Linked DNA regions of Homo sapiens: all the other regions are linked to region 1. The links are contacts of gene promoters, found by promoter capture Hi-C in human tissues and cell types (Jung and others, 2019). All regions are on one chromosome and are shown on one strand. The core of a region is centred on a gene start or on the middle of the fragment in contact, and the rest is flanking DNA. Distances in the headings are between cores, read along the strand shown. Region 1 holds the start of UBE2G2 (ubiquitin conjugating enzyme E2 G2). Region 2 overlaps MCM3AP (minichromosome maintenance complex component 3 associated protein). Region 3 holds the start of LOC124905030 (a long non-coding RNA gene). Region 4 overlaps PCBP3 (poly(rC) binding protein 3).

The links. Contacts are between HindIII fragments. The study calls those that stand out against the background at their distance.
Region 2: a contact is called between a fragment that was not itself captured here and the fragment with the promoter of UBE2G2 in region 1, in 1 of the 25 tissues and cell types used here (dorsolateral prefrontal cortex).
Region 3: a contact is called between a fragment that was not itself captured here and the fragment with the promoter of UBE2G2 in region 1, in 1 of the 25 tissues and cell types used here (hippocampus).
Region 4: a fragment that was not itself captured here is called in contact with the fragment with the promoter of UBE2G2 in region 1 in 1 of the 25 tissues and cell types used here (dorsolateral prefrontal cortex).

Annotation. Positions count from the first base shown.
Region 1 is chr21:44,797,990-44,804,054 of GRCh38, reverse strand. It overlaps UBE2G2 (ubiquitin conjugating enzyme E2 G2), which reads left to right and starts at 2,235. Exons shown (of 6, transcript NM_003343.6): 1 at 2,235-2,349. The coding sequence starts at 2,307. It overlaps LINC01424 (long intergenic non-protein coding RNA 1424), which reads right to left and starts at 1,814. Exons shown (of 2, transcript NR_109928.1): 1 at 1,419-1,814; 2 at 1-308. RefSeq lists silencers at 1,617-1,666, 2,167-2,386, 2,447-2,506 and an enhancer at 2,054-3,009. The HindIII fragment of the contact is 9,913 bases long and covers 1-6,065 here.
Region 2 is chr21:46,235,634-46,241,166 of GRCh38, reverse strand. It overlaps MCM3AP (minichromosome maintenance complex component 3 associated protein), which reads left to right. Exons shown (of 28, transcript NM_003906.5): 26 at 150-356; 27 at 4,188-4,338. It overlaps MCM3AP-AS1 (MCM3AP antisense RNA 1), which reads right to left. Exons shown (of 4, transcript NR_110565.1): 3 at 148-333. Among named protein-coding and RNA genes, the nearest start is that of MCM3AP-AS1, 9.2 kb to the right of the region's middle. The HindIII fragment of the contact is 5,213 bases long and covers 1,677-5,533 here.
Region 3 is chr21:43,699,019-43,705,354 of GRCh38, reverse strand. It overlaps LOC124905030 (a long non-coding RNA gene), which reads left to right and starts at 2,055. Exons shown (of 2, transcript XR_007067894.1): 1 at 2,055-2,692; 2 at 3,363-3,623. The HindIII fragment of the contact is 8,181 bases long and covers 1-6,268 here.
Region 4 is chr21:45,914,393-45,920,761 of GRCh38, reverse strand. PCBP3 (poly(rC) binding protein 3) reads right to left here. Exons shown (of 18, transcript NM_001384156.1): 13 at 3,133-3,174. Among named protein-coding and RNA genes, the nearest start is that of COL6A1, 64 kb to the left of the region's middle. RefSeq lists an enhancer at 1,088-1,587 and a silencer at 4,060-4,286. The HindIII fragment of the contact is 4,969 bases long and covers 1-4,858 here.

The sequences.
Region 1 (6,065 bases), core at 986-3,485:
TGTGCTGCCCTGCAGTATCACACACTGGCTGCTCAGAGTCCCTGGGACTCCACTACCACTTGATCCAAGTTGAGAGTTCCACGAGTTAGCCAGTTAAAACATAGGATGCCCAGCTAAGCTTGAATTCCACATAAGGTACTGAACGACGTCCCTGAAATGTTGCAGAGAGCCTGGTTCTCTGAAGATAAGGTGTTGTAACAGTCCTGTTGAGGGGAGAGACTGCCATCTTGTTTCAGCAACTCATATTTCAAGTGACTTTTGTCACTTGAAGCTGAAGCTAATCCTGATAGAAGCTGTAAACCACATTTCTGAAAAATAATAATTGGAAAACATACAGTGTTCTGCAGTAAGATGTCTGAAAAAGATGGATAAAATTATGAAAACATCAAGCATATGTTGCAGTGAACATCACGGCATTGACAGTAATGCTTTATTGCCCACATCTCCCATAACTGGAAAAGGGGAGCTGCTCTCCTTTAGGAGCACTGGACAGACTGCCTTGGGGTGTGGGGTGCTGTCTGATTAGAGAGAGAGCAGCTCTTGAATGGGGGAGGAAACACCTCCACTGTGACTTTTTGCACATTGCATTTGCACAAATTACTCTCTGAAACAGTCTCAAAGGACCATGTCATTTTATAAAGCACTGTGGTCATTTGAAAAGATGGAGGTAGACTGAAATTTTGAATTTTGGGGAATTTTCCTACACTATGCATACTTGTGAAGTTTGTATTGTTAAATTTCATTTGATTTGACAAATCCGTGTTAAGAGTATACGATGTCCAGGTACAGAGGCTGCCCCAGAAACAAGACAGAAGTAGGCAGGGACCCATGGCTCTCATGGAACACGCTTTTGGTTAGAGGCAACAGATAAGGGTAATACATTTATAGCATGCCAGTAAGTTCTATAGTACGGTGTGTTGAGTAGGTGTTGCAGAGAAAAAGGTATGCGGTGAAGGCCGGGTGGTGACGGCCTAGGCCACACTGAAGAGGCAACATTTGAGCAAAGACTGAAAGAGCAGGTGGGAAGAGTCGGGGACAAGAGCCGCCAGAAAGTGTTTCCGGGGAGGGAAGAGTCAGGGACTCTGAACCAGGCCAGGGCAGCTGGAGTGGAGTGAGAGGGAGGGAGGGTCTGGGAGTATGGCGGGGTGACCGGAGGCAGAGCAAAGCACTGCAGGACTTCAGCTTTACTGAGTGAAATGGGCGGAGCAGAGTGTGAATGTGATCAGACTTCTTTTCAAGGGATCATCTGCAATGCTGGAAAGGAAAAGACAAATGATAGATTATTGCAACAAACAGCCAGGCAAGAGATGCAAACTTTTTTTGCAAAGGTGTGTGTGTATATACATCCTTGCACCGGACAGCCACGAAGCACCTACTGTGCTGTGAAGTCAGTAAGGATGTGGGTTAAAATCGCTCACCTCACAGCGGGTCAATCGGGAAAGCACACCCACTCACTACAGCCATTATGGGAAAAAGGGCTCGCCCCTTACAGGATCCTCAACTGTGGAGAGGCCGGGAGCCCACGCGGGGCGCTGGGGAGTCTCTCAGCACCCCAGGGGTTCGGGCAGGGACCTGAGCCGCGCCCTCTCTCCCGGGGGTGCCCTGGGGTCGAGGCTGCTCGGCAGAGCCGGCGGTCAGTTCGAGCCGCGGGCCCGAACAGGGCTCTCCCCGCGGCTCTCTCCCTCGGAGTAGAAGGTGCTGGACCCGAACTCCAGCGGAGCCGCACAACACGTGGAGGAAAAGCGCCAGGACAGCTAACCTTCCCACCTTTTCAAACCTGAAACCCGGCCGGCTGGGGACGGTTGGAATGTTCAGTGCGTACCCGCACCTCAGGCCCCTTGTCTCCAGCCCCAGACCGCCCCGCGACCATCCTCCCCACCCCCCGACCTCTTATCTCGTCCCCGCCCTGTCTCCCCAACCTCCATCCTCCCCTCCACAACCCCCGTCCTCCCGCCCTTCGGCCACGCGCGGCTGGCACAGAACAGGCAGTTAGCGCACACACACTGGAACAGGCGCCACCGTTCAGGAAGTCTCTACAAGACCAGGACCCTGAGGCCTCTGGAAGTGCCGGGACCGAACCAACCCCGCAGAGCGACTAAGGCGAGGGCAGGAGCCAAGAGAATCGTAGCCGCGGTCGCGGGTTGAGCTCCCACCACCCGGACAGCGCGCCTCGGCGATCGCGCACGCGCCACGCCCCGGAAGAGTTCCTGGGCCCGCGACGGTGGCCCGGAAGCAGTCCCCGGTGTCGGGGCAGGAGGCACGCGCGCGGCTGAGGCGAGGTCGCTCGGCGCAGCTGTTGCGGGGCCATGGCGGGGACCGCGCTCAAGAGGCTGATGGCCGAGTACAAACGTGAGTCTGGGGACCCGGGCCGTCAGCAGCGTCCCGCGTTCCTGCTCCCGGGCCCGCGTCGTCCGGCGGGGCTGGGGCAGGGAGCCTGGCGGGGGAGCCGGGCCCGGGGCCTCCACCGTGAGCCCCCCTGTGGGTCCCGCGGAGTGCCGCGCCCTGCGCCCGCTGCCCACTCTCACGCGTGAAGTCGTGAAGAGAAGCCTTCCCAGCATCAGTAAAGGCAGCGCCGGCGCCGTGTTAGTTGAGAGCACACACAGTTGAGTCTTTGCGGGCTTGTTTTTTTCTCTTCTATTTTTTCTTTTCTTGGCAGCCTTGAGAACGTGCAGTGAGAGCTTGAGGAAGAAGGCCTGACTTGCTGCTGCGGAATTAGGAGGGAAAAGTGTATGCGTTAAAAGGGGAAAGGCTCGTTGGTGGAGCTTTGAAAGGTCAGATTTTGGCTTTCCCTCTAATGAAGGAAAAGGGTTTTTGAACAGTGCCACCTGTCACTCCTCCTAGGTAGTGTTGAGGAAACCTCTTGAGTGCTTTCCTACCCGGTAAATTAGATATTTCTAATGTCTGAGGAGAGCGAAGGGAGAAATGAGAACCTAGGAACACTCGGCATTCCATCGTTTTACACCGAATGCCCGCTTGGAAGAACTGCTGCGAGAAGTCTTGGAATACCATTGTGTTGAAAGCGCCAGGAGCCTGAGTCGCCGATGGAGACGAGATAGTAGCCGGCTAAGAGCAGGGCCTGAGTTCAGACCCGGCCTCTCTGCTTGTTAGCTCTTTGACCTTGTTCCTCTCTCTGTCTCTGCAGTTTCCTTGTCTTAAAAGGTTAAACTTGATACTGCAGGTGAAGTGCTTAGCAAAATACCTGATGTGTAACCCTTAATAAAGTTAGCTGCTGCTTTTGTAATTAGATTGAGGATAATTTTGGAAGAAAGTTAAGCTAAAAGAATGAATGTGAGAAAAAAAATAAGTGGTGAATATACATGTAGCTTGATTTCGTAAAACTATTGGTGACACCGCCCAGTAAGAGTTGATGTTTGGCTTAAGCAGACCAAAACGTTGCAAATACAGGCTCACTCACGTATGGTCATTCTTCCCTTGGTATCTGGAGGGGATTGGTTCCAGGCCCCGCTGCAGATACCAGAATCCTCGGATGCTCAAGTCCCTACTATAAGGTGGCGTGGTATTTGCATTTAATGTATGCATAGCCTCTCATAACTTTTAAATCATCTCAAGGTTACTTATAGTACCTAATGCAATGTAAGTGCTGCACAAATAGTTACACTGATTTTTTTTACTTGTATTTTTAAATCGTCATTTTTTATTGTTATTTTTTTCAAATATTTTGTATTCCTGGTTGGTCGAATCCATGGATATGCAGCCGCAGATACACAGGGCCTCCTGTAAACGTTCAAATAACGCTCGCCACCTAGTGTCTGCTAAAGCAGAACATAAAGGCACACCTCAGTTTCCCGCGCGCTTTGCTTTATTGAGCTTCACTTCGCAGATCTTGCATTTTTTACAAGTTTACAAGTTTTTTACAAGCAACCCTGCATGGAAGCAAGTCTGTTGGCACCATTTTTGCTCGCTTCGTGTCTCTCTCTTACATTTTAATCTATTACTGTGATCTATGATCAGTAATCTTTGATGTTACTATTGTAATTATTTTGGGGCATCACAAACTATGCCCATAAAAGATGGTAGTCCTAATAAATGTTGTGTGTGCTTCACTGACTGGCTGTTTCCCCATCTCTCTCCCGGCCTCTCTCTTCCCTGAGACAAAACAACATTGAAATTAGGCCAATAGTAACTGTACAGTGGGCTCAAGTGTTGAAGTGAAGAGTTGCACTCTACCCACTTCAAATCAAAAGCTAGAAATGATTAAGTTTAGTGAGGAAGGAATGTTGAAAGTCAAGATAGGCTGAAAGCTGGGTCTCTTGTTAGCCAAGTTGTGAATGCAAAGGAAAAGTTCTTAAAGGAAATTAGAAGTGCTGCTCTGTTGAACACAATGAATGATAAAGTGAAAAAGCCTTACTGCTGATATGGAGAAAGTTTTAGTGGTTTGGATAGAAGATCAAACCAGCCATAACATTCCTTTAAGCCAAAGCCTAATCCAGAGCAAGGTCCTAACTCTTCAGTTTTATGAAGGCTGAGAGCAGTGAGGAAGCTGCAGAAGAAAAATTGGGAGCTAACAGAGGTTGGTTCATGAGATTGAAGTAAATAACCTGTCTCCATAACAGAAAAGCACAAGGTGAAGCAGCAAGGTCTCCAGAAGATCTAGCTAAGATCAAGATGAAAGTGGCTCCTAAATTAAGCAATAGATTTACAAGGTACGTAAAATAGCCTTATACGGTATTGGGAGGAGATGATGCCATATACAACGTAAACAGCTAGAGAGAAGTCAATGACTGGCTTCAAAGGACAGGGCGACTCTTGTTAGGGGCTAATGTCGGTCACTTTAAGTTGACTGAGTTGAAGCCAGTTCTCATTTATCATTCAGAAAATCTTAGGGCCCTTAAAAATTATGCTAAATCTACTCTGAGCTCTAGAGATGGAAAAACAACCTGGATGACAGCACATCTGTGTACAGCATGGTTTACTGAATATAAGCCCACTGTTGAGACCTACTGCTCAGAAAAAAAGATTATCTTCAAAATACTATTCCTGACAGTGCACCTGGTCACTCAAGAGCTCTGATGGAGAGGTATAAGGAGATAAATGTTTTTGTGCCTGCTAACACAACACCAATTCTGCAGCCCATGGATCCGGGAGCACTTTTGACTTATTTAAGAAATACATTTCATAAGGCCATAGCTGCCATGAAAAGTGATTTCTTTGATGGATCTGGGCAAAGAAAATCAAAAGTCTTCTGGAAAGGATTTATCATTCTAGATGGCATTAAGAACATCTGTGATTCATGGGAGGTCACCATATCAACAACAGGCGTTTGAAAAAGTTGATTTCAATGCTCATGGATGACTTTAAGGGGAGGAAGCAACTGCAGGTGTGGTAGAAATGGCAAGGGAACTGGAATTAGAGGTGGAGCCTGAAGATGTCACTCAGTTGCTACAATCTCATGATCAAACTTGAACAGATGGGGAGTTGAGTCTTACAGATGAGCAAAGAAGTGATTCTTGAGATGGAATCTACTCCTGGTGAAAATGCTGTGAACATTGTTGAAATGACAAAAGATTGAGACTATTCCATAAATTTAGTTGATAAAGCAGCCGCAGGGTTTGAGGGTATTGACTCCAGTTTTGACTGAAGTTCCACTGTGGGTAAAGTGCTGTCAAACAACATCACAGACTACAGAGCAATCTTTTGTGAAAGTAAGAGTCAGTCCCTGTGGCAAACTTAATTGTTGTCTTATTTTCAGAAACTACCACAGCCACTCCTGCCTTCAGCAACTACCACCCTGATCAGTCAGCAGTCATCAATATCCGGGCAAGACTGCACCGGCAAAAAGATTATGACCTGCTGAAGGCTCATATGATTGTTAGCATTTTTTAGCAATAAAAATTAAGCATATTTTGGCAAATAATAATTATTTATTTATTTATTTTTTGAGACAGGGTCTTGCTCTGTCACCCAGGTTGGAGTGCAGTGGCACAACCACAGCTCATTGCAAGCCTTGACCTGGGCTCAAGCTATCCTTTCACTTAATCCACCTGAGTAGCTGAGACTACAGGCATGTGCCCCTACACCTGGCTGATTTTTCTGTCTTCATCTTG
Region 2 (5,533 bases), core at 3,034-5,533, 1.4 Mb before region 1:
CCAGCATGAGCTGTTCCAGGAGGGCACATGTGTCTGAGGCACATGTTCTTACATGTTAATGCACATGTGCAAATGTATCTACATGCTTTACATGATGCTGTAGAAATATTTTCTCTTGACCATAAACATTTCAAATCATGTACTTACAGTTTGGCAATAAAGCCTTTTCATCCTTCTGCAAACAATTTTCCCATACCATTGCTTCACATGCACCGTAACTGGAAGAGGAGCACAGAGTGTGCTCAAGAGGGGAGGATTCCCAGCACAGAGGATCTGATGCGAGGAGCTTCTGCTGAGGAGCTCTTGGCGCAGTGTTTGTCGAGCAGTCTGCTGCTGGAGAAAGAAGAGAACAAGAGGTGAAGCCCACTTCCTTCTAATTCATGTGTGTTTAGTCTGCTTTATGCTGTGAGGGGAGACTGGTTATTGCTTGATTAATATAAGACAGCCAGGATGGAGAAGGGCAGGTGGATTATTAGCAACAGTTTTAGTGATGTAACTATTTAAAAGCTCTTTGAAGACAGAAGCAGTGCCCTAGATAGTATGTTTCTAACTGTTTATATTGAAGTGAATTTCATTTATTATTTATTATTGAAAGTCAGTGTTAAGTTTTTCTGGGAAATTCATGTGGTTAAGTCTGCTCAGAAGATGGTGAGTGCTGAACACTATGGCTGGCCACAGGCACCCTGCCCTTGGGAGCCTGAGGCATTGGTGGATCATCCCATGCTGTGAATGGACAGGAGCTGGGGCTGCCCCTCCTCTACATTGCCCACTTCCCTCCCTCCCATGCATACCTTTCCTTTGCTTTCATTTGATGGCCATGTTTACCATTTTACTGAGTAGAATCAGGAATAAGGGACCTTCCACAGGTTGTCCTCTGCCTTCCCTGCCCTCCCAGCCACATCCAGCATCCTCCCTATATCCCCTTCCTGACGCCTCTTGTTGCTGGAAACGAACCATGCAGCTCGTAGTCAGTCAGCCCTTCCCTGGGCTGGGATCTCATCTCCCACCTACCCAAGGACATTCATTCAATGAGTATCTCTCTCGTGCTACCACCCCTCCCCATATTAGGTGGTGCCCATCAGCAGCACACAGACATGAAACATGCCTCCCTGTCTTGGTCCCACTTCCCTCTTTAGCCACCACTTCATGTTTCTGCCCTCTTAATGGTAAAACTCCTCAAAAACGCTTGTGATACTCACTTCTTCAGCCTTCTTTCCCATGGGGATGAAGGCCCAGGGTTGAACATGACCGTGAATCCCAGTCCTTGGTAGCATCCCATACTTGATCCTCCCCTCCTTGCTCCTAGGATGTCCGTGGTCCCCCTCCTGCCCTGCTGGTTCCTCCTCATCCCCCAGCTGCCCCCTGGATTCATTCTCTCAACCTCTCCTCTGCATCGTCTGTACCTACTCCTCAGAAATTTCATCCAGTTTCATGGATTTTTAAGTAACATCACTATTCTGACAGCTCCAAATTTGTATCTCAAACCTCTGAACTCCACACTTGAACATGCTACTGCTTCCTTGAAATCTTCATTAGACACCTATTGGATGTCTGGTAGCCACTGCAAAGTTAACATATCCCAAATCCAGTTCCCGGCTTTCTTCCAACCAACCCCTTCCTTTGGTGGTCATCTCTGTTGATGGCGGCTCCATCCTTCCAGCTGCCTAGATCAGGTGCCTTGGAATCATCCCCTCACATCAGCCCATTCACATATCCTATTGGCTCTATTGAAAATACATTCAGAATTGGACCACTTGTTATGACTTCCATGGCCACCACGTGGCTCAAGCCACTATCATCTTCCTTCTGGATTATTACAGTAGGCTGCAGTTTAGTCTTGGTAGACCTGGTGGGTGCCTTTCAAGTGAGTTAAGATGGAGGTCGTGTCACTTGCTTGCTTACAGCCTCTCAGTGGTTTCCCTCTTTCACCTGCAATCAAAGGCAAACTTTGCAGGGGTGGCCAGGGCCCTGAGTGATCTGCCCCCCATTTCCTCTCTGACCTCCGCTCCTTCCTTGAGCATGGTAGGCAGTTCACAGTTGGGCCTCTGAGTTTGCTGTTCCTTTTGCCTAGGACTGTCCAGCCCCTCCATTCTCCCCAGCATCCCCATGGCTGATCTTGTACTCACTTCAGATCTCTACTCAAATGTCTGCTTCTGTTAGGCCCTGCTTGCCCATCTCCGACCTTCTTGTTTCCATGGCTCTGCTTTGTCTTTCTCATCTTCAAACCATGTTTCTCTTGTTATGTGTTCCTTGTCTGTCTCTCCTCACTAAAGTATAAATTGCTTAGGGCAGGGCCTCTGTTTTGTTTCAGTGCAATATTCCTTGTACCTAGAATGATGCCTAGCATCTGGAGGAGGCTTAATGAATATGTTTTGGAAGGGTGAATGAATGTGTCCGATTACTAAAATCAGTCTCTATAATTTAAGTGGTTTGGGATGAGATTTTTTTTTCCTTTTTATTAGATAGAGTCTCGCTCTGTTGCCCAGGCTAGAGTGCAGTGGCACAATCTCGACTCACTGCAACCTCCACCTCCCAGGTTCAAGCAGTTCTCCTGCCCCAGCCTCCCAAGTAGCTGGGACTACAGGTACCCATCACCATGCCTGGCTGATTTTTGTATTTTTAGTAGAGACGCAGTTTCACCATGTTGGCCAGGCTGGTCTTGAACTCCTGACCTCAGGTGATCCACCTGCCTTGGCCTCCCAAAGTGCTGGGATTACAGGCATGAGCCACTGCACCTGGCCAAGATTGTTTTTCTTGAAAAGACCGGTATATGGAAGTAGACAGCTCTAGAGTATGTTAGGTGGCAGTGGGATATTATTTTGAGTTAATTTTAAGCTATAAGCAGCAATCCACTCATTTGGAAAATGTCAGAAGAATTAATTATAGATGCATAAAACCAAAGTAAATTAAATAAGATAAGCCAAACAAGACAATTACAAGTAATGTTAAGTAACACATCGAAGCAGTTGTTTTTGGATTAATACCACCTTTTTCATTAAATATAAATTGGAATTGGATTTATAAATTAAAGGGAAGTGGTTTCTCTAATTTTTTTTTTTTTTTTTTTGAGATGGAGTTTTGCTCTTGTTGCCCTGGCTGGAGTGCAATGGCGTGATCTGGCTCACTGCAACCTCCGCCTCCCGGGTTCAGGCAGTTCTCCTGCCTCAGCCTCCCAAGTAGCTGGGATTACAGGCACGTGTCACCATGCCTGGCTAATTTTTGTATTTTTAGTAGAGACGGGGTTTCACCATGTTGATCAGGCTGATCTTGAACTCCTGACCTCAGGTGATCTGCCCGCCTCGGCCTCCCAAAGTGTTGGGATTACAGGCATGAGCCACCGAGCCCAGCCTAGTTTTTTTTTTTAAATTAAGCTTTATCATAGGAAGTTGTTAAATTTTTAATAAGTACATTTCTGCTTCTCAGTTGATGTCATAACTTAGTTATATTCTTAGTAAAAAGCAAAGGCTTAAGGCTGGGTGTGGTGACTCATGCCTATAATCCCAGCACTTTGGGAGGCTGAGGTGTGCACATCACTTGAGTTCAGGAGTTGTAGACTAGCCTGACAATACAGCAAAATCCCGTTTCTACAAAAAAATACAAAAATTAGCTGGGTGGCATGCGCCTCTAGTCCCAGGTATTTGGGAGGCTGAGGTGAGATCATTTGAGCTTGGGAGGTCAAGGTTGCAGTGAGCCAAGATTGTAACACTGCACTCCGGCCTGGCCAACAGAGCGAGACCTTGTCAAAAAAAAATAATAATAAAATTGGCCAAGCACAGTGGCTCACTCCTGTAATCCCAGCACTTTGGGAGGCCGAGGTGGGTGGATCACCTGAGGTCAGGAGTTCAAGACCAGCTTGGGCAATATGGTGAAACCCCATCTCTACTAAAAGTACAAAAAATTAGCTGGGCACAGTGGCACTTGCCTATAATCCCAGCTACTCAGGAGGCTGACGCAGGAGAATCACTTGAACCTGGGAGGCAGAGGTTGCACTGACCCGAGATTATGCCACTGCACTCCAGCCTGGGCAACAGAGTGAGACTCTGTCTCAAAAAAAAAAAAAAAAAAATTATATAAAATTTTAAAAAAGCAAAGGCTTAAAAAGTTTTTAAGTATATATAGAAGATTAATGAACAATAGTTAACTTCCTAATGCTCAAATATTTTTGAATTTATTACATATTGTTTCAGGTTTGAAGATCAGCTTCAGCAATGGTTGTCTGAAGACTCAGGAGCATTTACGGATTTAACTTCCCTTCCCCTCTATCTTCCTCAGACTCTAGTGTCTCTTTCTCACACTATTGAACCTGTGATGAAAACATCTGTAACTACTAGCCCACAGGTGAGAAGAACGTATACATTTGGCATTTACATAAGAATTAAAGATTGAGAGAATGGCTGGGGAAAAAAGTAATATCACGATTTATCCTATGATGTTTTGATGACCGACAAATTATTAGCTCAAATTAGACCTTTTCTTAAACTTTATCCATATCATTGTTAAAGAGACCCAACTGATTTTGAGTTTCTGCCTACGAAATAAATGAAGAATAGAATTGAAATATTCTTAAGAACTGAATAAGACCTGTAACTGTGTGCTGATGTGTAATTAAGGGCATTAAGGTGATGACAGCAGCTTCTGTTGGAGCACATATTGTCTGAGCTTTGGCATTACCCAGACCTCTCTTCTGGGATTAATTTTTCCTGAGGAAAACTAATGAATGAGGAAGGTAAGCTCCCAGAAGTCAAGAGCCTCACCCAAGAGTGTTCAAGTAGTGAGTGGTCAGGTTGCTTTTCAAAGCCAGATCCAACTGGCTCCAAAGCCTAAGGTCTTTTTACCTTACCATTCTTCCTTCAGTGGTTAAAGATGCAAAAACAGAGTTTCAATCACAGATATGTGCCACTGAACAGGTAAAAACTGTGCTCCTGGACTGGCTTTAGGAAGTCCTTCAATAGAGGAGAAAAGCAAATTAAAATGATGTACTGTTTCCATTCATCAGTTTGGCAAATACTTTAAAAATATTCATACCCTTTGAATTACCAATTCTAACCTAAAGAATTCTGACCTACCAGATATTCCCCAAAAATTAATGTATAAAAATGTTTACTGTAGCATTATTGTATGAAAGTCGAAACAGAATAAATATCCGAAGATGGGAGTCTGATTAAACAATTATAACACATTCATGTGATAGAATAATTCACAGCCCTTGACGATGATATTTTCTAAAAATGACTGGCTGGGCGTGGTGGCTCATGCCTGTAATCCCAGCACTTTGGGAGGCTGATGAGGGAGGATCGCTTAAGTCCAGGAGCTTGAGTCCAGCCTGGGCAACATAAAGAGATCTCATCTCTACAGTACATAATTAGCCAGGCATGGTGCTACATGCCTGTTGTCCCAGCTACTCAGGAGGCTGAGCTGGTAGGATCACTTGAGCCCAGGAGTTTGAGGCTGCAGTAAGCTCCGATCATACCACTGCGTTCCAGCCTGGGTGAAAAATGACTGACACTGGAAATTGTTCATGATAGAATACAAA
Region 3 (6,336 bases), core at 929-3,428, 1.1 Mb after region 1:
TGCGAATGATCCTGCACCCAGGTACTGAGCATAGTCTCCGGCAGTTGGTTTCTCAGCCCTTCCCCGCTCCCTCCCTCTCCTCTCTGGTGGTCCCAGTGTTTACTGTTGCGGTCTTTTATGTCCATGGGCACTGATGTTTAGCTCCCACTTGTAACTGAGAGCATGTGGTCTTTATGTCCATGGGCGCCGATGTTTAGCTCCCACTTGTAACTGAGAGCATGGGGTATTTGGTTTTTAGCTCCTGTATCGATTCACTCAGGACAGTGGCCTCCAGCTGCATCCATGTTGCTACAAAGGACATGATCTCGTTCTTTTTCGTGGCCGCGTCTGTGTTTGTGACCGCAGGAGTGCTGTCAAGCTGAGAGGCTCTCTCATGTTTAAAGTTTTTTTTTTTTGAGACGGAGTCTTGCTCTGTCGCCCAGGCTGGAGTACACTGGCGCGATCTCGGCTCACTGCAACCTCCACTCCCCAGGTTCAAGGGATTCTCCTCCCTCAGCCTCCCGAGTAGCTGGGAATACAGGCGTATGCCACCACACCCAGCTGATTTTTGTATTTTTTAGTAGAGATGAGGTTTTGCCATGTTGGCCAGGCTGGTCTCGAACTCCCAACCTCAGGTGATCCACCTGCCTCAGCCTCCCAAAGTGCTGGGATTATAGGCTTGAGCCACTGTGCCCAACCTAAAGATGTATTTTTTTAATAACATAGCCTCTACAAAATACAAGTCAGATATTTTTTCTTGGCACTGGACCCAATAGAGAGCGCCTCCCAAAGGAGCTCCTGAGGGCAATCTTGGGTCTACCCAACTGCTAGAGACTGAGTGTGTCCCCCCAAATGCATAGGTTGAACCTAACTCCCAAGGTGAGGGTATCAGGATGTGGGGTCTTGGGAGGTGATGAAGTCGTTGCGGGGAGCCCTCAGGAATGGGATTTGTGCCCTTGTGAAAGAGGCCCCAAAGAGCTGCCTGGCCTCTCCCAGACACCAGATCTGCCGGTGCTCCATCTTGGACCTCCAGCCTCCAGAACTTTGAGAAATCAATTTCTGTTGTTTATAAGCAGTTTATGGTCCAGTCAAGTGCCACAAGTCCCATAGATAGTCCCATACATGATGACACCGTATTTTTTTTTTTTTTTTTTTGAGATGGAGTCTCGCTCTGTCACCCAGGCTGGAGTGCAGTGGTGTGATCTCGGCTCACTGCAACCTCCGCCTCCCCAGTTCAAGCGATTCTCCTGCCTCAGCCTCAGAAGCTGGGATTACAGGCATGTGCCTCCATGCCCAGCTAATTTTTGTATTTTTAGTTTAGACGGGGTTTCACCATGTTGGCCAGGCTGGTCTCGAACTCCTGACCTCAGGTGATCCAACCGCCTCGGCCTCCCACAGTGCTGGGATGACAGTGTGAGCCACCGCACCCGGCTGGCACGTTATTTTTTATGCCTTTTCTGTATTTAGATACACAAGAGCTCACCACTGTCAAGGGGGCCCACAGTATCTGGTGCAGTGACATGCTCTGCAGGTTTGTAGCCTGGGAACAGCAGGTTACAGCACAGGGCTGAGGTGTGTCACGGGCTGTGCTAGCCGGGTTTGTGTGAGTGAATGCTGTGAGGTCTGCACGACAGTGATATCGCCCGAGCATGCATTTCTCAAAACAGATCTCACTAGGCGACCCATGACTGTACTTGCTATAGCAGCCAGCACAAACCAAGCCACTTCTGGGAAACTCCATCGCCAAATACCATCCCTCTGGGGATTAGGTTTCAACACATGCATTTGGAGGCCTCAGACATTCCACCTCTAACAGCCTCCATGTGGCAGGTCTGGGCCAGAGCTGGGCAGGAAAGGGGAAGGGCCTTCTGGCTGAAGGGTCCCCACAAAGAGGCCAATGAGTGGGTCAAGAGCGTGGCAGTGTGAGGAACTGAAGACAAGCCCCGGCGAGGTGGGGCTGTGACCGGGGCTGAGCGGGCAACAAGTGGGGACTTTGTCCAGCAGGTTCAGAAAAAGCTGTCACGCAGAACACATCTGGCGGCCACCCCTGCCCATGCCCATCTTATAGCGTTTTCATCAGCAGATTTCAGCACATAATCATTTAAGATAAAGTTGCCCGCTCAACTGTGTTAAAAATAAGTAGCACTGCCTGCAGTTGCTTGTGGGGAACAAAAGCAACGTCTCCTTTCACCCGCAGAAAGCCCGTGATAGGGGGCGGGGCTGAGTGTCAGTCTGCACCTCTGCTGAGTTCTCAAGGTCGGCGTGAATGATTTGCCAGGACGTGGCGCTGCGGTGGCGATCGGGGCCACTCGGGAAAGGTACGAATCAAATAGGAATCAAATCCGGTAGCTGTCAGTTCAGTACATTTTCAACTTTTATTCTTAAAAACCTGGGTGGAGAAATAATTGTAGGATTTAAAGATTGACGGACTGAAGCCTTAATCACCAGGCAGTGACTAACGCCAGAAAGAGCTGCGGCAATTTTTAGACTGGGTTCAGAAAGGCACCGAGTCCTAGGAACAAAAGGCGGGCGCAGGGCCCTCCGGGAAGACACAGGGGCTGAATCGCAACAGGACGCAGGCGGCTCACCGTTCTCTCCACACGGACTCTACTTCCTAAAAGGGAATCGCACCAGCATAACCTGCAGAGAAGGGGCTTCAGCTGCCGTCTGCGGACCCCCTACACCCCCACTCAACGCCACCTCCAGCCCCCAGGTAGGGCTGGCCTCCCTGCCTCAGCCCCTGCCAGAAGCCCGGGGCTGCCCTTTCCTGCAGCTGGGCCTGTCCTCCTGAGACAGCTGCCTGCTGGGCGTCGTCGTCCGTGCCAGCCACGGAGGCAGTGTCTCTTCTGGCACGTGCTCCCAAAGGAGCAGTGAAGAGAAAGTCAGAGGCTGCAGGGTGCCAAACCCCAGGGGGCTGGCCCTGGAAGCCTGGGACGCCTGCAAGGGCCAGGTTAGTGGAGGTGAGGACAGAGGCCCGCCTGCTGACGGGCTTCCCAGCTCTTCTCAGAAGGAAAACGTGCCCATGGAGATGAGGTGGATCAGGAAACGAGGAGAGAGGCCGACACGCTCTGGAAACCTCCCTGTCTTCTTTTCCCCATTCTCCCTGGGCCCTCCCCACATCAACCAGAAGCCGGTCCTCCGATCCTGCCCGCTGAGCCCAGGTGTGGGCCCCAGGCCTGGCTGCCCTCCCGCCTCTGGTCCATCCGGGCCTCTGACCCTTCCTTCCCCTGCTGCCTGGTGGGTGCTCTCCAGTGGCTCCTGAAGTGTGCACAGGACAAAGCCCAAACCCTGCCCACGGCCCCCACGGCCCCCATGGCCGTCCCTGGCCAGCCCCCCTACATCCTGGCTGCACTGGCTGTTCCCTCCTTTGTGCCTCTACTCAGGTGCGGTTCCCTCTACTGAGATCCCCACCCCGACTTGTTCTCTGGACAAACTTCCTCTCGGCTTTAGCTGTAGAATCGCCATGGCCAATATCATAGCTGCAACCACATGTGACTCCAGAGTGCCAGGCGACGCGTGCCATCAGCATACACGCCTGGTTTTGGAAACTTACTACAGAAAAAAAAGCCTGCAAAATATCTTAATACTTTTTAATATTAATTACGTGTTGAAATTATATTTTGGAAATACATTATTTAAAAAGATTGACAGTTTCTTTTTCTCTTTTAAAAAATGTGTCTACAGCCGGGTGCAGTGGCTCACGCTTATAATCCCAGCACTTTGGGAGGCCGAGGTGGGCGGATCATGAGGTCAGGAGATTGAGACCATCTTGGCCAACATGGTGAAACCCCGTCCCTACTAAAATACAAAAAAAAAATAAGCCAGGTGTGGTGGTGCGCACCTGTAATCCCAGCTACTCGGGAGGCTGAGGCAGGGGAATCGCTGGAATCCGGGAGATGGATGTTGCAGTGAGCCGATTGCGCCACTGCACTCCAGCCTGGCAACAGAGCAAGACTCAGTCTCAAAAACAAAACAAAAAGTGTGCAAGGAAATTGAAAGTGACAGCTGTGGCTTGCATGGTGTCGCAGGTCTCATCTCCTCTCTGGTCCCTGGACTCCAAGCAGTCCCTGTTGTCTTTCTGGCCTGTATCCCAGCGCCTGGCACTGCCTGGATACTCGGCGGGCGTGCCAAGCATTTTTATCAAAGGAGAGAGTGCCTGGGACTCCTTGATCTGCACCCACCTTCAGTGAGTCAGTGTGTGGGTGCGTCCGAGGATGGGGCCCTCACCTGGCTGCAGCTGTGTGTGTGTGTGTGGTTTTTTGTTTTTTTTTTTATTTTATGAGATGGGGTCTCAGTCTGTCACCTAGGCTGGAGTGCAGTGGTGCGATCTTGGCTCACTGCAACCTCTGCCCACTGGGCTCAAGCAATCCTCCCACGTTAGCTTCCTGAGGAGCTGGGACTACAGGTGCGTACCACCACGCCCAGCTAATTTTTTGGTATTTTTGGTAGAGTTGGGGTTTCACCATGTTGCCCAGGCTGGTCTAGAACTCCTGAGCTCAAGTGATCCGCCCTCCTCAGCCTCCCAGAGTGCTGGGATTGCAGGCAGGAGCCACTGCGCCCGGCCATCTGCAGCTGTTGCATGTGAGTGTGCACGTGCGTTCTGGTCGGGGCACTGGGGGTCGGCGTTCTGTAACTTTGCAGGCAGCCCCTCCTTTCCGGAGTCCCTGGGAACTTCAAAGCAGGAACGGAACATTCAGAGGCAGCAGCAATGTCCTGGTTCCTGCAGGCTTTGTAGGCTCAGAAAACAAACCTAAATCCAGTCATGTTTCTGCATTTAGCTTTATGTTTTTAAACAAAACTTTGGCTTGGCTTATGTTTCATTTATAGAAAAGCGGTACGTAGCTGGGAAGTTGGTACAATAATAGTTTATTCTCAGGCGCTGCAAAAACCAGCCATGTGTCTGCTGCCTGCTGTGCTAACCCTGGAATTTATTGATCTCTGTGGTCCTAGGTAGATCCACAGTTTAGAGACTAAAGTTAGATGACAATTTGTGCTTGAGAAGCAGGAGCTCTGGGGAGAAGATGATGTCTTCTTGGAGTCTGCTGTGTCCCCACGGTGCCGGCTCAGCACTCTGGCTGGGTTACAACAGGCCTCCTCGGGCTGCCCGCCTGGACACACAGGAAGACGCCAGCCCACGTGCTGCCCTGAGCTGCACTAGGACCAAGTCGGGGAAACCAGCCTGTGAGCTCTGGATTTGGGTCCTGATGCTGGGCCAAGGGGGGTTATCCCTTCCTAGAGAAAGCTGGAAAGCTGAGGTTGGAGTTGTCATAGCAACCAGGCCGTCAATCAGGGGCTGAGCACTGTCAGGGGCGTTGGATGTCCAGGACTTCCCACACAGGGGTCCCTGTGACAGAGTGGACAGGCCACAACCCTGCTAGATCATCCCCAGGGCAATCAGAAGCAACCCACTGGGCTGCGGGGTCAAAGTTATACACACTCTTCAAGAATGCAGTATCAGAAAAAATGAGGGGCAGACACTCTGGAAGAGAGACTTTAGACAAGAATCACTGCACATCCTTGGTTATTTCCCGGTAAGAAAAAATGTTTTGAGAACAACTAGGGGGAAATTTGAACGTGAACTTGTGTGAAGATGTCCTTGATCTAAGTTGGTTTCCTGTAACCATGGCGATGTAGTTATAGAGAGGAATGTCACCTGGTAATGCAGGCTGGAGTGTTTGAGGACACAATGCCATATTGCCCATAACTTATTTTTATTTTTTCCTTCGAGACAGGGTCTTGCTCTGTCGCCCAGGCTGGAGTGCAGTGGTGCAGTCATGGCTCACTGCAGCCTTAACCTCCTGGGCTCAAGCGATCCTCCCATCTCAGCCTCCTACTGAGTAGCTGGGGCTCTAGGCATGTGCCACCACGCCCAGCTAATTTTTGTATTTTTAGTAGAGACAGGGTTTCACCATGTTGGCCAGGATGGTCTTATCTCCTGACCCTGTGATCTGCCCGCCTCGGCCTCCCAAAGTGCTGGGATTACAGGCATGAGCCACCGCACCCGGCCGGGAATGGCACCTTCTAAAACGAAACATGCACATCCTCTGCCAGCCCAGTCTCTCAGGAACCTCAGAGACATCCTCACACCAGGGGGGACAGGTGACACGTTTGGCAAAACCTTAATCCACATAGAGCACGAGTCCACACTTATGAAATATCTAGAAACACAAAGTGCTGGCTGCCAGGTGCTGGCACGGAGGGGAGCGGGGCTGACTGCTCAGCGAGTGCGGGCCTTCTCTTGGGGTGATGAAATGCCTGCAGTAGATGGAGGTGTGGTCTCACAACATTGTCAATACACTAAATGTTGGAGACCAGCCTCAACACCACCCACAGCGTACCCGAAGTTCGGTGGCAACA
Region 4 (6,369 bases), core at 1,125-3,624, 1.1 Mb before region 1:
CTCTTGTCCTCACATGACAGGAGGGATGGAGGGGAGGCCACTCTCTGAAGCTTCTGTTATCTGAAGCCTCTGTTATCTGAGGCCTCTGTTATAGGGGCACCAATGCTGTTCACGAGGGTGGAGCGCTCATGACCCAATCACTCCCCAGCCCTGGGACCCCCCACCCTCTAATACTGTCACCTTGGTGATTAGGTTCCAACAGAGAAATTGTGGAGGAATAGACATATTTAAACCATAGCACCAGGTATCTCAAATCATTACCACATGCACTGAGGCAGTTCTCTTAACAGTTAGTTATACATTAAACTAATTTGAAACAATCTGCACAACTACCCATTTCTAAGAGATACTGAGAAAGTCACATGAGAAAGAGCAAAGCCACCAATCGAAGTAAAAGCCAATCACCAAACATCAGGGTCCTGCAGTCCCACCGTGGCACACAGCCACGGCCTCTGGAAATTTCAGACCACAAGCATTCTGGCTCAGACGGGTGCTCAGCCAAAGGCCACAGTGAGAACGTTAGGCTCTGTGGCCACAGGAAATCCGTAAGGTGTCACCAGAGGGTCCCTGCAGGTCTGAGCATCCAACTTCAGGGCGACTGTCTGGGGTAAACACAAACCCTGACCCCATCGACTAACCTTCCCTTTACCAAGGGCACCGCACACTGCCTTTCCTTTGGGTTCCAGAGCTTTGCAAAGTCAAGTGACCCCCCCTTTGGAACCTGCCTCTGCACACGTGCATCTCTAGATGTGCGTGACCACCTGTCCTGAGTCCTTAATGGAACTGGGCCACCCCAGAAAGTCGCCTCTGACTCCCCTGGCTTCCATCTTCATCTTCCTTCACACAGGCTTTCTGTTAGGACACATCACACCTGCCCCCCACACCCCTGCCACACACATGCACGGGGACGCGCACGCGCGCGCGCACACACACACACACACACACACCTCTGCTTCTGCCCAACGCTGCTGCTGGGCGCAGGCTGGGGCAGCCCCAACAGTGCCTTCCGGTGTGTGGTGGCCACAGCCCGGCTTCCTAGTGGGGTCAGGCACTGGTGTCTACAGCTGACCCCAGGATGAGATGTCCTTGATGTAGCTACAGCAGCATCACCAAAGGTCTGACGCCAGGAACCACTAAAAACGGCCTCTGGGGCAGGTGGGGAAAGGCTTTTCTTGATCAGCGTTTCTCTACCATTTGATTCATGTGTTGCCTTTAATGGAATAACTATTGTTATCTATTCTCCATTCAATATAAATTTTCCTGCAATGATAGTAAATTGCATCTCTATATCAAAGATTTATTTAATGTTCATTAACTCTTAAAAACACTCCTGACCTGCCTTCTCATCTCACTCAGATGGACGTCCTTGCCCCCAACTCAAAAGCATCAGGGTTTGCAGAAGGCTCTGGAGCAGCCCGCTCACCTGGCGGCCACCTCCCAACCAGCTCAGAGGCGCCTCTCGCAGTTCAGAGGGAGCAGCACACAGACTGGAACTGCGTTACGAGGAGCAGCTACTGAGCTGGGCAAACGTTCAAAATGGTTTAGAGAAGAGAAACCTCCTCAGAACCAACTCCAGGTTTGCCCCATCTGCTGACAGCACGAAGCACTTCCGGTGGGGCCGTCTGTCTCTCGTTCTCTGTTGCTCTCCCCTCTCCTCTCCCCAGTGCCTGCCAGTGCGGCCGTCACTCCCTGGGGGCCCTAAAGCCGCCTCCAGAGAGGCCCTTTGCTCACAGTTTGCACCTTTTATCTCTTGGCCCCTAAGGGGTCTGAGCCGCACAGCCCAGAGCCGCCCAGGGTTCCCCTCCGATGGATGATCTGAGAGTATCTTCTTCCTCCAGCACTGGAATTACACCGACGGTTTATCTGAGAGTAACTTCTTCCTCCAGCACTGGAATTACACCAGTGGTTTATCTGAGGGTAACTTCTTCCCTCAGCACTGGAATTACACCAATGGTTTATCTGAGGGTAACTTCTTCCCCCAGCACTGGAATTACACCGACCGTTTATCTGAGAGTAACTTCTTCCTCCAGCACTGGAATTACACCGACGGTTTATCTGAGAGTAACTTCTTCCCCCAGCACTGGAATTACACCGACGGTTTATCTGAGGGTAACTTCTTCCCCCAGCACTGGAATTACACCGACGGTTTATCTGAGGGTAACTTCTTCCCCCAGCACTGGAATTACACCGACCGTTTATCTGAGGGTAACTTCTTCCCCCAGCACTGGAATTACACCGACCGTTTATCTGAGAGTAACTTCTTCCCCCAGCACTGGAATTACACCGACCGTTTATCTGAGAGTAACTTCTTCCTCCAGCACTGGAATTACACCGACGGTTTATCTGAGAGTAACTTCTTCCCCCAGCACTGGAATTACACCGACCGTTTATCTGAGGGTAACTTCTTCCCCCAGCACTGGAATTACACCGACCGTTTATCTGAGGGTAACTTCTTCCTCCAGCACTGGAATTACACCTAGACCCAGCAGGAGCAGAAAAGAGGTGTCGGAGCCCCCGGTCATGGAGCTGCATGGGACCCAGCTCCGCATGGCCCGGGCGGAGCCAAGGACGCTATGCCCGCCTGGCATCCCACTGATTCTGGAATGAAGACAAAGGCCTATTCCACTGGCTTTCCACAGCCTGGATCTGTGTGTGTAGATGGACCCTATGTTTTCATGTGGACTCTGAAAGGGGGAGTTAATTTCACCAGGCCCTCAAATGTGCTTGCCAAGGTATCTTTGTGGCCTGTTTGATAATGTCACCCAACTTCTTAGGCGCAGAGAAAGTATCACTGACGCCTGCCTGTGGCGGGTGAGCACATCCTCACTGCCCTGCACGGGGACAGAGCCCGTCTCAGTTCCCTCCCAGGCCCCGTGGGAGGGAGGAAAACCCAGGACTGCGGCAGAATTGAGACAATTTGACATCAGGCCAAGTCCTCAACACAAGCAGAATTAGTGCTAAGAGGTTAAAAGGTTATTCGAGGTCATATGGATACGACACAGGTCAGGAACGCTGAGAAGTTGATTAATATTATTGTGTAATATTAATGTTAGTAGCAATTAACAGCAGCATGCAGGTAGGTAAACAACCATGAGAAGAGAAAGGTGAGAGGAAGACAAAGTGAAGACTCACATCCGGGTGAGGGATGGCATACTGTCCCTGGATTGTGTAGGCCTAGAGAGAGAGAGAGACCCCGTCAGACTGCAACCTGGCTGCACCACGGCTCAGCACCCGCCGCCACCCTCCAGCATGACAAGGACCCTCCGGTAGAAGCTTCCCCCTCGTGTGCCTCTCCACCTGTCCCCATCCTAGGACAAAGGGCCAACCCTCCCAGGGCACCAGGAGCCCCAGGGGAGCCGCACCCACTTCCTCTGGGCGGGCAGAGCTGAGCTGGCCAGTTCAGCGGGTGGGAGGGAAACAGTTCAGCCTTGATGCTTCCGACTCCAAGTTTCTTAAAGCAAAAGAATCGAAGAGTGATCTGCCCAGTAAGAGGTCTCCACTAATTATTACGGTTTTGAAAATTTAATCAGTCATCTGAGTAAATACTTTTGGGAAATAATTTACCCCAAGAAGTCCAAACAACAAAAGAAAGCTCTAAAAGGTGACCAAAACCAATTCACCAAAAGCCAGTCTACGTAGGAAGTGGGTCTACGTCAGTCACAGCTTGCTGCCTCTCATGACCGCCCTGAAGACAGGGAGGGGGTGGCCCTCCTGACGTGGGGGCAGCAATACACCCCTCCCAAGCCATCGTGTGGGGCTCCTGAGGCCTCATTTTGGCTTCAGTATTTCCCTCGCCTTCAAAACAGTGACTCCGACCTGCAGCCTCTTCCCACCCACCCTGACTCTGAAATCCGGGCAGGTGAGAGAGGCCCCACCTGCCCCACAGGTCCCGTCAGTGGAGACGCTTTCAGGTGATTCAGAAACTCATGGCCAGACAACAAATGGACCACACAGAGTCAAGGGAGAGTGAAGACCACGAACAGCTGTCAGGACTCGGGACATGGACAGGGCTGCACCAGGCCTGGTGGCAGCCTGGGGGTGGAGGGAGCGGCTACCAGCCCCTGGCTGTGCGGGCCCCACGCCACTTCCCATGAGGACCCGTGGTATCGGTGTTCGCGGTGACCACACGTGGGGGTGGGGGGACCCTGTGCACCAGAGAGGGACACTTCAGGGAAGGATGTGTGTCACCTCTGTGCAGCCCAAACCCTCCCATGGGTTTTGAATCTGCCAAGAGTTTTCATCATAAACAACCCAATCCTCGGAGTTAAAGGCCAGTCAACCTCCAGACAGGGACCCGGCTGCAGCCCAGCTTTGAAACAAGCCCCAGGGCTGTGAGGCCACAGTGCTGCGTCAGCTGAGGAAGTAAAAGAATCTTATCAGATAGAGCAGGAACCAAGGACCTCACTGTCCTGTACAAAGTGTCTTGAGGGCCACCTGCAAGTGTTTTGTAAAGGTGCTGCCAGAGGCACGTTCCCATGTGTCACCGAAGGTGAGGGGCCCTGGAACTCATGCTGGGAGCCGCCCCCTCAGCGCACGGGGTCCCAGGTCAGCCCCAACTGTCTGAGCTGAACCACAAGAGCTCAAGCATCCTGCATCCTGGGCCACGCGAGTTTTCTGACTGATCTTCTTACTGTTATGTTTTCTATCTGCTCGTCCCTTAGCAGGCTCTGCTGATTTAACTCACGACCATGTCGTGCTAGAAACGCGGTGGTGGCTGACAGGAGCTGCTGCTGGGTGCCCCCAGAGCACTCACAGTGGTGGGGCATCTTCCAGGTCCCTGATTTCTCCAACTGGACAGAAATAAAGTGGATGGGCCCTCCAGGTTAGCTCTCTAGGGTCTGTATTGGGTTGTGTGTCCTAATCTAGGCACTGTGGGTCTGAGTCGTCAAGGAGACGCCAGTGGCCTTGCAGGTATCCGGCCCACACTTCTGGGTTTGCATTTCGGCAGCTCCCCTGGGTTACTTCAGGGTGGGTAACTCCCTGCGACTCTGTCCTCCACCACCAAGGCTGACCACTGGCCAGACCAGACTGTCCCCAGGGCCCCAGGGCCCAGCTCTCAAAGGGCTGACATTCTAGCATCAACCTTCGGACAGCACCCACTGCACAGGGCCCTTCACCTGCTGCAGTAGGGAGGGCGTGCTACTGCCTTCTTTACAGGAGTGAGAGGTGTGTGGCCGGTGGCTGAGCAGGGCTCAGCTGCACCCCCTCTTCCCTGGAGCTGTGACTCCTCCCCCAGTGGCTTTAAGACCCCACATGTGTTTGTATAAACACACCTTCCTTTTGAAAAAAATCCTACCTTTTACCACATGATATCATCATGGATTTGTTTAAACATAAAGGTGGAGTCCACAGAGGTTACTAAACCGGTTACCTAACCATGAATTTGGGGAAAGCAGCGAAATGGAGTTTTGCACAGGGACTTCTCCCGCCGTGTGACTCCGTGTGACCCTGTGACCTGAGCCCCCTAGGTCGGCGAGGTAAGGACATGTCCTGCTGCCCACAGGGCTGTGACACCAGGCAAATCCCTGGCTAGCCAGGCCCAGTTTCCTGGCTATAAAATGGGGGTGTGCCATGCCCTGGGGCTGCTGTAAGGATGGCATGTGCATGTGGGGGCTCCCTGACCACAGCAAGACAGGAAGGGGTGTGTGCCAGGCTGTGGAGACGAGGCCAGTGTGGGGAAAAGGCATACCCTGCCCTGAGCACACGGGACCCTGGGAGGGAAGGGATGGACACACACTCCCTGTCTCTCCCTCAAACACGGGCCACAACTGGGAGATCTGATAAGATTCCTTTACACCGTAAGGAAAAGCACCAGGAAAAGTGCTAACATTTGCCCCTTCTCTCCTTTTTGATGGTAAAGTCAAACCTCAGGCCTGTTCTGCCTTGCCAGGGTCACCTGTGGGAACGTCTGTCTCAACTCTCCCTTGAACAAAGACACACATCACGGCCGACTGGACACAGAGCTCTTCCAGGCCAACCCCCGCCGGACACCTTCAAAGTCTGTTGGCCACAGACTGGCCCTGAGTGGGTGGGTGTTCCCTGTGCCCTGGCCAGGGTTTGGGCTCAGGTGAGGGGCTGGGGCAGGGCTCCCCTCCTCCACTCTCCTGCAGAGGTGCTGCCATCCCTGGCGGGAGAACACAGAGCTCAAGGGCTGAAACCAAAAGAGCCAGATCTGCAGACTGGGTATGGGGTATGGGGCGCCTGTGAGGCCCCTGCTCACAGCAGACGGAGGTCCGGACACAGCGGCACAGACGCCCGGTCGTCGGGCCATGCATCCTTCCTCAGTGCAGAGCTCCCTCCTCTCGCACGTCCCTGCTACAAGCACATCCTGGGAGTTTGGGAACACGGATGTCAGTGGAAACAAGACCC